Regions from separate parts of the Homo sapiens genome. Here all the other regions are linked to region 2. The links are contacts of gene promoters, found by promoter capture Hi-C in blood cells and fetal thymus (Javierre and others, 2016). All regions are on one chromosome and are shown on one strand. Each heading gives the region's core, a stretch centred on a gene start or on the middle of the fragment in contact. The rest is flanking DNA. Distances are from core to core; before and after follow the strand shown. Region 1 overlaps INTS4 (integrator complex subunit 4). Region 2 holds the start of NARS2 (asparaginyl-tRNA synthetase 2, mitochondrial). Region 3 holds the start of RSF1 (remodeling and spacing factor 1).

The links. Contacts are between HindIII fragments. The CHiCAGO score rates a contact against its expected background, and 5 or more counts as called.
Region 1: a contact is called between a fragment that was not itself captured here and the fragment with the promoter of NARS2 in region 2, in 2 of 17 cell types (fetal thymus and neutrophils). The highest score is 6.0, in fetal thymus.
Region 3: a contact is called between the fragment with the promoter of RSF1 here and the fragment with the promoter of NARS2 in region 2, in 5 of 17 cell types (non-activated CD4 T cells, fetal thymus, total CD8 T cells and 2 more). The highest score is 7.3, in non-activated CD4 T cells.

Annotation. Positions count from the first base shown.
Region 1 is chr11:77,884,361-77,887,754 of GRCh38, forward strand. All of the region lies in intron 21 of INTS4 (integrator complex subunit 4), which reads right to left. It also overlaps a transcript of AAMDC not described here. Among named protein-coding and RNA genes, the nearest start is that of AAMDC, 65 kb to the left of the region's middle. The HindIII fragment of the contact is 2,648 bases long and covers 204-2,851 here.
Region 2 is chr11:78,573,541-78,576,644 of GRCh38, forward strand. It overlaps NARS2 (asparaginyl-tRNA synthetase 2, mitochondrial), which reads right to left and starts at 1,324. Exons shown (of 14, transcript NM_024678.6): 1 at 808-1,324. The coding sequence starts at 948. RefSeq lists enhancers at 710-819, 1,480-1,619. The HindIII fragment of the contact is 10,208 bases long and covers 1-3,104 here.
Region 3 is chr11:77,818,952-77,822,119 of GRCh38, forward strand. It overlaps RSF1 (remodeling and spacing factor 1), which reads right to left and starts at 1,771. Exons shown (of 16, transcript NM_016578.4): 1 at 1,577-1,771. The coding sequence starts at 1,763. AAMDC (adipogenesis associated Mth938 domain containing) reads left to right here and starts at 2,193. Exons shown (of 4, transcript NM_024684.4): 1 at 2,193-2,290. RefSeq lists enhancers at 152-1,125, 421-530, 1,126-2,098, 1,651-1,820, 1,831-1,970 and silencers at 1,161-1,250, 1,391-1,480, 2,071-2,230. The HindIII fragment of the contact is 10,465 bases long and covers 1-3,168 here.

The DNA of each region.
Region 1 (3,394 bases), core at 278-2,777, 690 kb before region 2:
CATTGCAAGCAGCTAGGAAGTCATTTATCTCTCTCTCTACGGAGAGACGGCTCAATGAAGAGTCCACTCAAATCACTGGCCAGTTCTTTAAGGCTCATAAACTGCAACAGAGTTCTTTCCTCAGCATCCTGGGGGACCTCCCAGCTCCCTGTGTAGACAGCCTACTATACTGCAGCGCACAAAGGAACTAGAGGAACAAATGAAGCTTATCCTAGGACTAGGACCTGCTCTATGTAAATATACTTATGAAGGCAGAGTAGGGAACCACACAGGTCTTCCAATGTTGAAACTGTGGTCAATGTTGAAACTGCGGAAGGCATGTCTCACCCACTTGCCCTATAATCCTTCATCTCTCCTCAGGTCATGGGGCCTCCCCCTGATTCTACACTTCTTTCTTTCTTTTTTTTTCTTTAAAACAGGGTCTTACTCTGCCACCCAGGCTGGAGTGCAGTGGCACGATCATAACTCACTGAAGCCTCAAACTCCTGGGCGCAAGTGATCTTCCTGCCTCAGCCTCCTGAGGAGTGGGGATTACAGGCACGTGCCACCACGCCAGGTAATTTTCTTTTTAAATTTTTTTGTAGAGACAAGATCTTGCTATGTTGCCCAGGCTAGTCTCCAACTCTTGACCTCAAGTGATCCTCCTGCCTCAGACTCCCATAGTGTTGGAATTACTGGCATGAGCAATTGTGCCCAGCCTACCCTTATTTCTTTTTCTTTTTCTTTTTTCTTTTCTTGAGATAGTCTCACTCTGTCACACAAGCTGAACTGCAGTGGCATGATCTCGGCTCACTGCAACCTCCGCCTCCCGGGTTAAAGTGATTCTCCTGCCTCAGCCTCCCAAGTAGCTGGGATTACAGGCGCCCACCGTCATGCCCGGCTAATTTTGTATCTTTAGTAGAGATGGGGTTTCACCATGTTGGCCAGGTTGGTCTCGAACTCCTGACCTCAGGTGATCTTCCTACTTCAGCCTCCCAAAGTGTTGGGATTACAGGCGTGAGCCACCACACCTGGCCTACCCTTATTTCTTAAAGCTGCTACTCCCCACTCTAGTTCTAGGCTCCAAGCTCCCAAACCTACTATAGGAAAAAAATGCAGGTGTCTCAGTTTCCTGATCCTTATTATCTTTAAAGACAAGTGCTTGGGCTTCATTTTTTTTTAGAAAATGAAGGGGAGGGCCGGGCACAGTGGCTCACACCTGTAATCCCAGCACTTTGGGAGGCTGAGCCAGGTGGATTACTTGAGGTCAGGAGTTCAAGACCAGTCTGGTCAACATGATGAAACCCCTTCTCTACTAAAAATACAAAAATTAGCTGGGTATGGTGGCGTGTGCCTGTAGTCCCAGCTACTTGGGAGGCTGAAGCAGGAGAATCACTTGAACCTGGGAGGCAGAGGTTGCAGTGAGCTGAGATCGCTGCCACTGCACTCCAGCCTGGGTGACAGAGTGAGATTCTGTCTCAAAAAAAAGAAAGAAAGAAAGAAAAAGAAGGGCAGAGGGGGGCTGAAACAGCAATGATCATGGGAAAAACAAATGAACAGGGGCCATAATTTCTGTGTTCAGCAGGTGCAGTGGCTCATGCCTATAATCCCAGCATTTTGCGGGGCTGAGGCGGGAGGATTGCTTGAAGACAGGAGTTTAAGACGAGACTGGGCAAAAAAGTAAGACCCCCCAATCTCCACACAAAAAAAATTAAAATTAGCCAGGTGTAGTGGTGTGTATCTCTAGTTCCAGCTACTCAGGAGGCTGAGGCAGGAGGATCCCTTGGACACAGAAGTTTGAGGTCACAGTGAGCTGACCATGCCACTGCACTCCAGCCCAGGCAACAGACAGAGACCTTGTCTCAAAAAAAAGAAAAAAAAAATTCCCAGCATTCTCAGCAAAACTGTCCTTGGTGAAAGGCCTTCACTCCTCTGTGAAATGGTTGCTGGAAGCCTTCTTTCATTTGTCTACTCCAAAAGTGGAGCTTAGAAACCTGTGGCCCAAGTAGGTCAGAGGAAGGAAATGGCCAGTATGAATGATCATCAGGTAGAATACAGTAACCTAGATTAGGCTTACAAGAGTTAATAATCGCGAAGGCCCGCGGCGGGTGTTGATGCCATGTGATTTCTGCCCAGTGCTCTGAATGTCAAAGTGAAGAAATTCAATGAAGCACGGGTAAACGGCGGGAGTAACTATGACTCTCTTAAGGTAGCCAAATGCCTTGTCATCTAATTAGTGACGCACATGAATGGATGAACGAGATTCCCACTGTCCCTACCTACTATCCAGCGAAACCACAGCCAAGGGAATGGGCTTGGCGGAATCAGCAGGGAAAGAAGACCCTGTTGAGCTTGACTCTAGTCTGGCAGGGTGAAGAGACACGAGAGGTGTAGAATAGGTGGGAGGCGCCCGGCGAGGGGGCGGGGCAGGGTCCGCAGGCCTTGCTAAGAAACTCACTCAAAACCGCTCAACTACATGGAAACTGAACAACCTGCTCCTGAATGACTACTGGGTACATAACGAAATGAAGGCAGACATAAAGATATTCTTTGAAACCAACGAGAACAAAGACACAACATACCAGAATCTCTGGGACACATTCAAAGCAGTGTGTAGAGGGAAATTTATAGCACTAAATGCCCACAAGAGAAAGCAGGAAAGATCCAAAATTGACACCCTAACATCACAATTAAAAGAACTAGAAAAGCAAGAGCAAACACATTCAAAAGCTAGCAGAAGGCAAGAAATAACTAAAATCAGAGCAGAACTGAAGGAAATAGAGACACAAAAAACCCTTCAAAAAATTAATGAATCCACCACCAAAAATCCTCAATAAAATACTGGCAAACCAAATCCAGCAGCACATCAGAAAGCTTATCCACCATGATCAAGTGGGCTTCATCCCTGGGATGCAAGGCTGGTTCAACATACGAAAATCAATAAATGTAATCCATCATATAAACAGAACCAAAGACAAAAACCACATGATTATCTCAATAGAGGCAGAAAAGGCCTTTGACAAAATTCAACAACCTTCATGCTAAAAACTCTCAATAAATTAGGTATTGATGAGACGTATCTCAAAATAATAAGAGCTATCTATGACAAACCCACAGCCAATATCATACTGAATGGGCAAAAACTGGAAGCATTCCCTTTGAAAACTGGCACAAGACAGGGATGCCCTCTCTCAGCACTCCTATTCAACATAGTGTTGGAAGTGCTGGCCAGGGCAATTAGGTAGGAGAAGGAAATAAAGGGTATTCAATTAGGAAAAGAGGAAGTCAAATTGTCCCTGTTTGCAGATGACATGATTGTATATCTAGAAAACCCCATCGTCTCAGCCCAAAATCTCCTTAAGCTGATAAGCAACTTCAGCAAAGTCTCAGGATACAAAATCAATGTGCAAAAATC
Region 2 (3,104 bases), core at 74-2,573:
ATAAATAACCACATCAGTGTACTTCAGCAACCTAATAAGAAACAGTCAAACACCTTGTTTATTCTGCACCTCTTCTATGTGGAGCTGCTGCAAATAATATAATCAGCAAGAGAAACAATAGCAGCTAACATTTGTAGACTATGAGCCACTGTTCTAAATATCTTACTTCCATTACCTCATTTAATTTTCAGGACTCAGGGACAATTATTATCTCTTTCCATAAGAGGAAAATAAGGTGTAGAACGCATAAACGCTATGCAGAGATTTAAACCTAAGCAGCTTAACTCCAGAGCTCTTTCAAACTGCTACATTCCAGTCTTTCTCCGAATTCATTAAAAATAAATTACATGCAGACCCCCACAATAGGCACTGAGGTCGCTAAAAGTTTAAAAGGCATGGTTTGAACAAGTATTTGCTGTCAGCCATGTGTGAATACAAAGGCAGGTAAGACACGGTTTCTGCTCTCAAGGAGGGAGGTCAAGACAACCACTTTATAAACCTGGATATTCATTATAAGGGATAAAGATAGAGAAAGGGGGCTTGTTCATTTACACTTTTGGTATGATTAACAAGTTTACAGGTAATACCCTGGAATCATGAAAGCAAAGTTCCAGCGCTTTACAGTTATCGGAACAGTTTTGTGAAAAGTAATGGAAATCAGAAAAGTGCAAACCCGCGACGCCTACACTTTCTAACTTTTCCCTGCTGGCGGTTGTGTCTGACCCGACTGTAAAAGAAAAGCTAGATGTGGATGTGCCATATAAAAGTCCCTACAAGAAAAAACCCACTCCCTTCCCATTCACCAACCTGGATCTTAATGCGCTCCCCACTCGCGTTCTGAGCCCCGAGAGCGTCCCGCACGCTCAGTTTGGCTGAAGGTTTGTGCTTGGGGAAGGGGGCGGAGGAACAGAAGCGCACGGACCGCAGCAGGCAGCGGACCCCCAGCATCCCGCGTCCGCCCAGGCCCTCCGCGGGAGCAGCCCAGACCCCACGGTTCGAACCCCGCCTGCAGCGGCCCTCCTTTCTCAGCTGCTCCCCTTCCGCGGCCGCAGCTCTGCTCTAAGGCACTCCAGAGCCCCTCGGCTGCGCGCTTTCTCCTTCAGGACTCCCAGCTCTGTCCCCACAGAACCTCTCCGCTTCCCACTTCCCAACGGGGCGGAATGGACAGGACACTAGGCAAACGCCAGAAAGAAACCACGTGCAGTTGGCAGCTGGGGCGCCCCACTACCCGCGACAATTGTAAACCTACGAACAGAACCCGGGCCGCAACACGCGCAACCACTCCTACCACACCACGCCAACGCCGCTTACGTCATCACGCTACGGGGAAGAAGGGAGAGCATGCGTACTTGTGACCCAGGCTTAGGGAGGCGTGCGGGAGGGGGCGGGGTCAGGAGCCGAGACGGGGCGGAGCTAATGCCCTAAGGTTGTAGAGATTATCGCTGAAAGAACGTGGGAGCACATCTGAGGGTCTTCATTTCTAAAGTTTCCAGGTGAGGCTGAGAAACTGAGAGGCAAGGAGTGACTGATGGAGAGGGAAACCGTCTCCATCAGTCAACAATAGGGATCCAAGTAAGAGGAGGCTCTTAGCTGTTAACAGGATTCGCTTGAAGAGATCAGTCGTTCCTTTCCTGAGTACTCCGCAGAGAAAAATCAGACATAGCCCCAATGCGCAAGTCACAGTTGTGTGGTATCAGACAGCTAAACAGACAGTTGCATAAAAGGGCGATCAGTTTGCCTGACAGAGCCTAAGCGTGGGACGCCAGAGATGGCTTCCTGGAGAAAGTAGTCCTCTGACAGGTAAATAAAAGGAACTGGAGGGACCTTGCATATGGCAGGCAAGACGGTGGGAAGATGTTGCAGAGACTGGAGGAAACTCGAGTGTTTCCTGCCAGAATCCTCCAAGTCTCCCTCTTCCCTCTGCCCTCCAACACAGCTATCTGCATTTGTTTGACCTGGAAACAATGACCCTTTTATATATTAGGCTACGTTTTATTAAAAAAAAAATTCTGTAACTCAATGACGGTCATTAAAAGGTTTTTAATCTAATTTAAAAAGTAAAACGTTTGGCCAAGTGCGGTGGCTCACGCCTGTAATCCCAACTCTTAGGGAGGCAGAAGCAGGAGGATTGCTTCAGCCCAGGAGTTCAAGACCAGCGCTCGCCCTCGCTGTCTCTCTCCCGCTCCCTCTCACTCTCACTCTCTCTCTCTCACTTTTACCTTACTTAAAGTTGCTACTATTATTATACCCATTTTACAAATGAGAGAACTTACGCACAGAAAGGCTAGATGACCTACTTAAGGATACACATTCCCTAAGTGTGAGATTTAAACCCAGAAGTGCTGGCTCTATGCACTTAAGCAGTATGCTGTATTACATAGTGTCCCAAGGTGATCTGTTCCATCAAGGAGCTCATGCTTTAGAGATGGAGACAAGCAAGAAAAGAGACTACTGAAATATAAACCAGTAAGTGCACACATAGATGTATGAGTTGTCTGCATTTGTTTGGACTGAAAAGTCACCCTTATATATTAGGCTACCTCTTAAATTTATCCAAAAAATTATTTTTGATATTTTATCCAAATATTATATTGGATAAAATATAATACAATTATAATATATACATGTATCACAATTTTATATTTTATATAATATAAATGTGTTCCCTGGTTCTTTTAATAAATTAAAATTATAAATATAATAAAATTATAATTATAAATTATAATATATAATTAAATTATATTGGATATATTATATATTATATACTTATAATATAAAATATGTTGGATAAAATATAATATAGTCTAGAGAAGGAGAAAATTAAGCTGAATTTTTGAAGTGGATCAATATTTTGCCAGGTAGGCATGTAAGAAAATTTCCTGCCAGAAGGTGAACACGGAAGGTTGCCAGGAGGGCAAATGGCCTGGAAAAATTGTAAAATCATTCTTAAGACAGGCTAGAAAATATCTCATCTGAAAATACTTGATGTTGGAGGTGGAACCTAGTGAGAAGTGTTTGGATCATGAAGGCCTTGGTGCCACCCTTGCAGGAGTGAATTCTCAGTCCATTAGTTTTTGCAAAGCTGATTGTTGAAAAGAGCCTGG
Region 3 (3,168 bases), core at 521-3,020, 750 kb before region 2:
TTGTTACAGGTAGAGGGAATGTGGACAGGTAAGAACAGATTACTAGGCTTATATTATAACTGCTGTATTAATTTGAGTCTTCGGTAGCCATAACATCATACAGATTCTTTATAGGTAATATTCTGAAGAACTTCATACTTGGCGCTTCCTAGCAATGCAAATAAATTCAGTTAACAGAAACTTCTTCATTTACATAGAGAATAGAAGAGCGACCCTGCTTTCTTGGAAAGGAAACAGCTATCTGTCTTGTACAATAACCAATCCACTTTGGCCAGCTAATATGGACAAAAAAAGAGACCTATTTGGAAAACGTTTCTTCTCCAGCCAAGGGCTGTTTCCAGATAAAGGCAATGCTCAGAGTATAACAAAAAAGCCTTCTCTGAGGAAAGAAAAGTGCCAGAAAAGGAGAGGCAGGGATCGGGAATAAATGGGGGTGAGTATAAGCACTCAGTGTGAAGGCTGGAGGCAGCAGGCGCAGCGCTGAGATGCTCCAGCAAAAGAACCAGCAGCAGCAGCAGGAAGTTTCAATGGGGCCGGGCAGAGCATGCGCCCTGCACCCGCGCGGTGGCCTTATGTGGAAGGAGCACCACTTGCGAACACCAATAATAGACCAGCGGCACCAGAGAGAGAAACATGAGCAACAAGCACCTTCTTCAACTGTTTCCCCCTCCGTCAGAGCCCCTCCTCCAGCTTACATACTAACCACCCCACCCTACCGTGCAAATGGGAGGGAGACGACTTCTTCGCCTAAGCCCGGCTGCCAAGATGAAGGGGGAAGGGATTGGAAAAGTGGGGAGATGCTCGCCTATTATTTTGGGGGAGGTGGGGAGAGGAAGGAGAACTATGGAGGAGGAATTAACCCTCTCCTCTCCACAGTGGAGCTGAACCGACTTCGCCCCCCTACCGAGAATGGAGAAGAACCCCCTCCCGTGGGGGAGGAGCAGACCTCCCCACTTCAAGGAAGGAGTTTTAGGGGTTAAAGCAGCCCTCGAGGGGAAGGGAAAAGGGACAAATCTCTCAGGGGAGTTCCCAACAGAGGGAGGGAGAGTTGAGTGTCCGCTGGCCCCCGCCCACCCAGGTGAAGGGAGATAAGGAGGTGTCCGGAGCAGCCGAGCCCAGCCTTCCCCGAGATGGTCGGGAAGACTGGTGGGAGGAGGGGAGGGAGTAAGGGTGGGGAGGAGGAGAAAAGCGCAAAGCTGGCCGGAACCTGCGCTCCCCTTCCCCCGCCGCCAAGGGGGAGACGGGGTGGGGGGCCGCCCTCCGCCGCGGAGAAGCAGTCCCCGGGGCTGCCGACCGGCACAATGACCCCTCCCCGCCTCCAGCCCACACCTAGCCCGCAACGCCTCCACCTCAGCTCCCCGCCCGGCCGAGTGGCCCTAGGGGGCCTCCGCCCCGCCTCCCCACTGCCCAAGACCCCGGGGGCTGGGCGGAGAAGACCAGCCCGGCGGAGTTGCGTCCCAGGGGGAAGACAGAGCCGCGGAGGCCCGAGCCGCGAAGAACCGGGGCGCCTGTGAAGAGCGGAGAGTAGCAGAGCGCCAGGGCCGCTTCCCGCCGGGCGTTCGGGCCCCTCGCTTACCTTCTCCGTTGCCGACGTCCGGCGGCGGCGCCTGCAGCACCCGCTCCAGCTCAGGGAACGGCAACTCAGGCAGGTCTAGCAGCGGCCCGTAGCGCTCCAAGAAGGAGCAGACTACGGCGAAGTTGGGGCACGAACCCGGGCAGCCCGGAGGAGCCATCACCGCCGCCGCTGCCGCCGCCGTCGCCATTTTGAACTGGAGGATGGAGGAGGAGGCGATGGGGGGGCGGGGGAAGTTGTGGTGCCGAGGGATGGCAAGGCAACCTTACAGACGACAGGAGGCGCTCTCAAGTGGGCTCCTCTGCGGATCCCAGCGTCTCAGGGACGGCTCCGCGATCCCACAATACATCGGCGGCCCGGAGCAGTCGAGAACCGAGTCAGACGGGAGACAGAGCGGCCCTCGGCGCCTTTCACTTTCCGCCCTCTTTCCGCCCCCTTCTCTCCTCCCCTTCGGGCTTGCCACTGCCTCGTGTGACAGGGGGAATGAAAACAAGGGAAGCGGGGCGGGGAGGCGGGCTGGAAGCGGGAGGGGCGGGACTTCTCGAGAACAATGGCCAATGGACGCAGAGGGGGCGGGGCCTCGGGCGCTGTTCAACTGCAGGGCGTATTCCCGGAGGGCAGTTGGGGAGCGCAGATCCCGAAGCAGCGCTGGGAGCGTAAGTGCGGGCAGAGCACTGCGCCGTTTGGGAACGCAACTTTGAGGAGACAGTGCGGTGGGTGAGTTTGCGGGGGAATCCTGAAACTGGGCCACGAGATGGTGGAGAGGTTGAGGAGAATTAATAAACAGAAAAAGGGAATAGGGCGGGGGAAAGCACAGTTGTGGGAGAAGGTTGGGAAGGGGAAAGGTAGAGGTGTGCCCTTAATTAGGGGCTGGGCTGGGACCTCGGTAAGATGTCTCTGTGGAAGTTTGCCGACGGGGTATTGCTCTCTGCTGGGGTACAGGAATCGCAGCTTTGCTGGAAAAGCAGGATCTGAGGGAACGGAACTCTGGGGGAATCGTCGGAGTGAGGAGTTGGGGCCCTGCTGGGAGAAGAGGATCTGAGGAGACCAGGCTCTGCTAGGGGGCCATGGTGTGAGGGGAAGGGGCTCTGTTCAGGGACCAGAATCGGAGTGTGGGCTGGGACTCCATTGAGAGGCGGAACATGACAGGAGACGGTGGAGCAGCGAAAAGTTTGTTAGAAGACAGGGTTCCACTTCGGGGCGGGGCGGGGGCAGTGAACATTCCCACAAAGAACGCCAGAGAGAAACTACCAATAATGTAAAATAGAATGTGCAGCCTGAGAAGCAGCAGTACACGTTATGCTTAGAAGCCTGAGCTTTGGATTCAGCCAGGCCTGAGTCCTAGCGGGGCTACTTCATGACACTGTGGAGGTTTCTTTATTTCTTTGAACTCCTTAGAGTGGGGTGATAATAGTACCTACATCATACGGTATTACTAGATAAATCACAGTAAAGTGATTAGCACAGTGCCGTAGCACATAGTGAGTACTTTAAAAATATTAGTTATCAAAAAAGGAGTTCCTATAATTTAGACTGAATTCCGCTATATTTATTTAGTCTATAATTTATTACTTTGAGAATTTTCTGAGTGCATT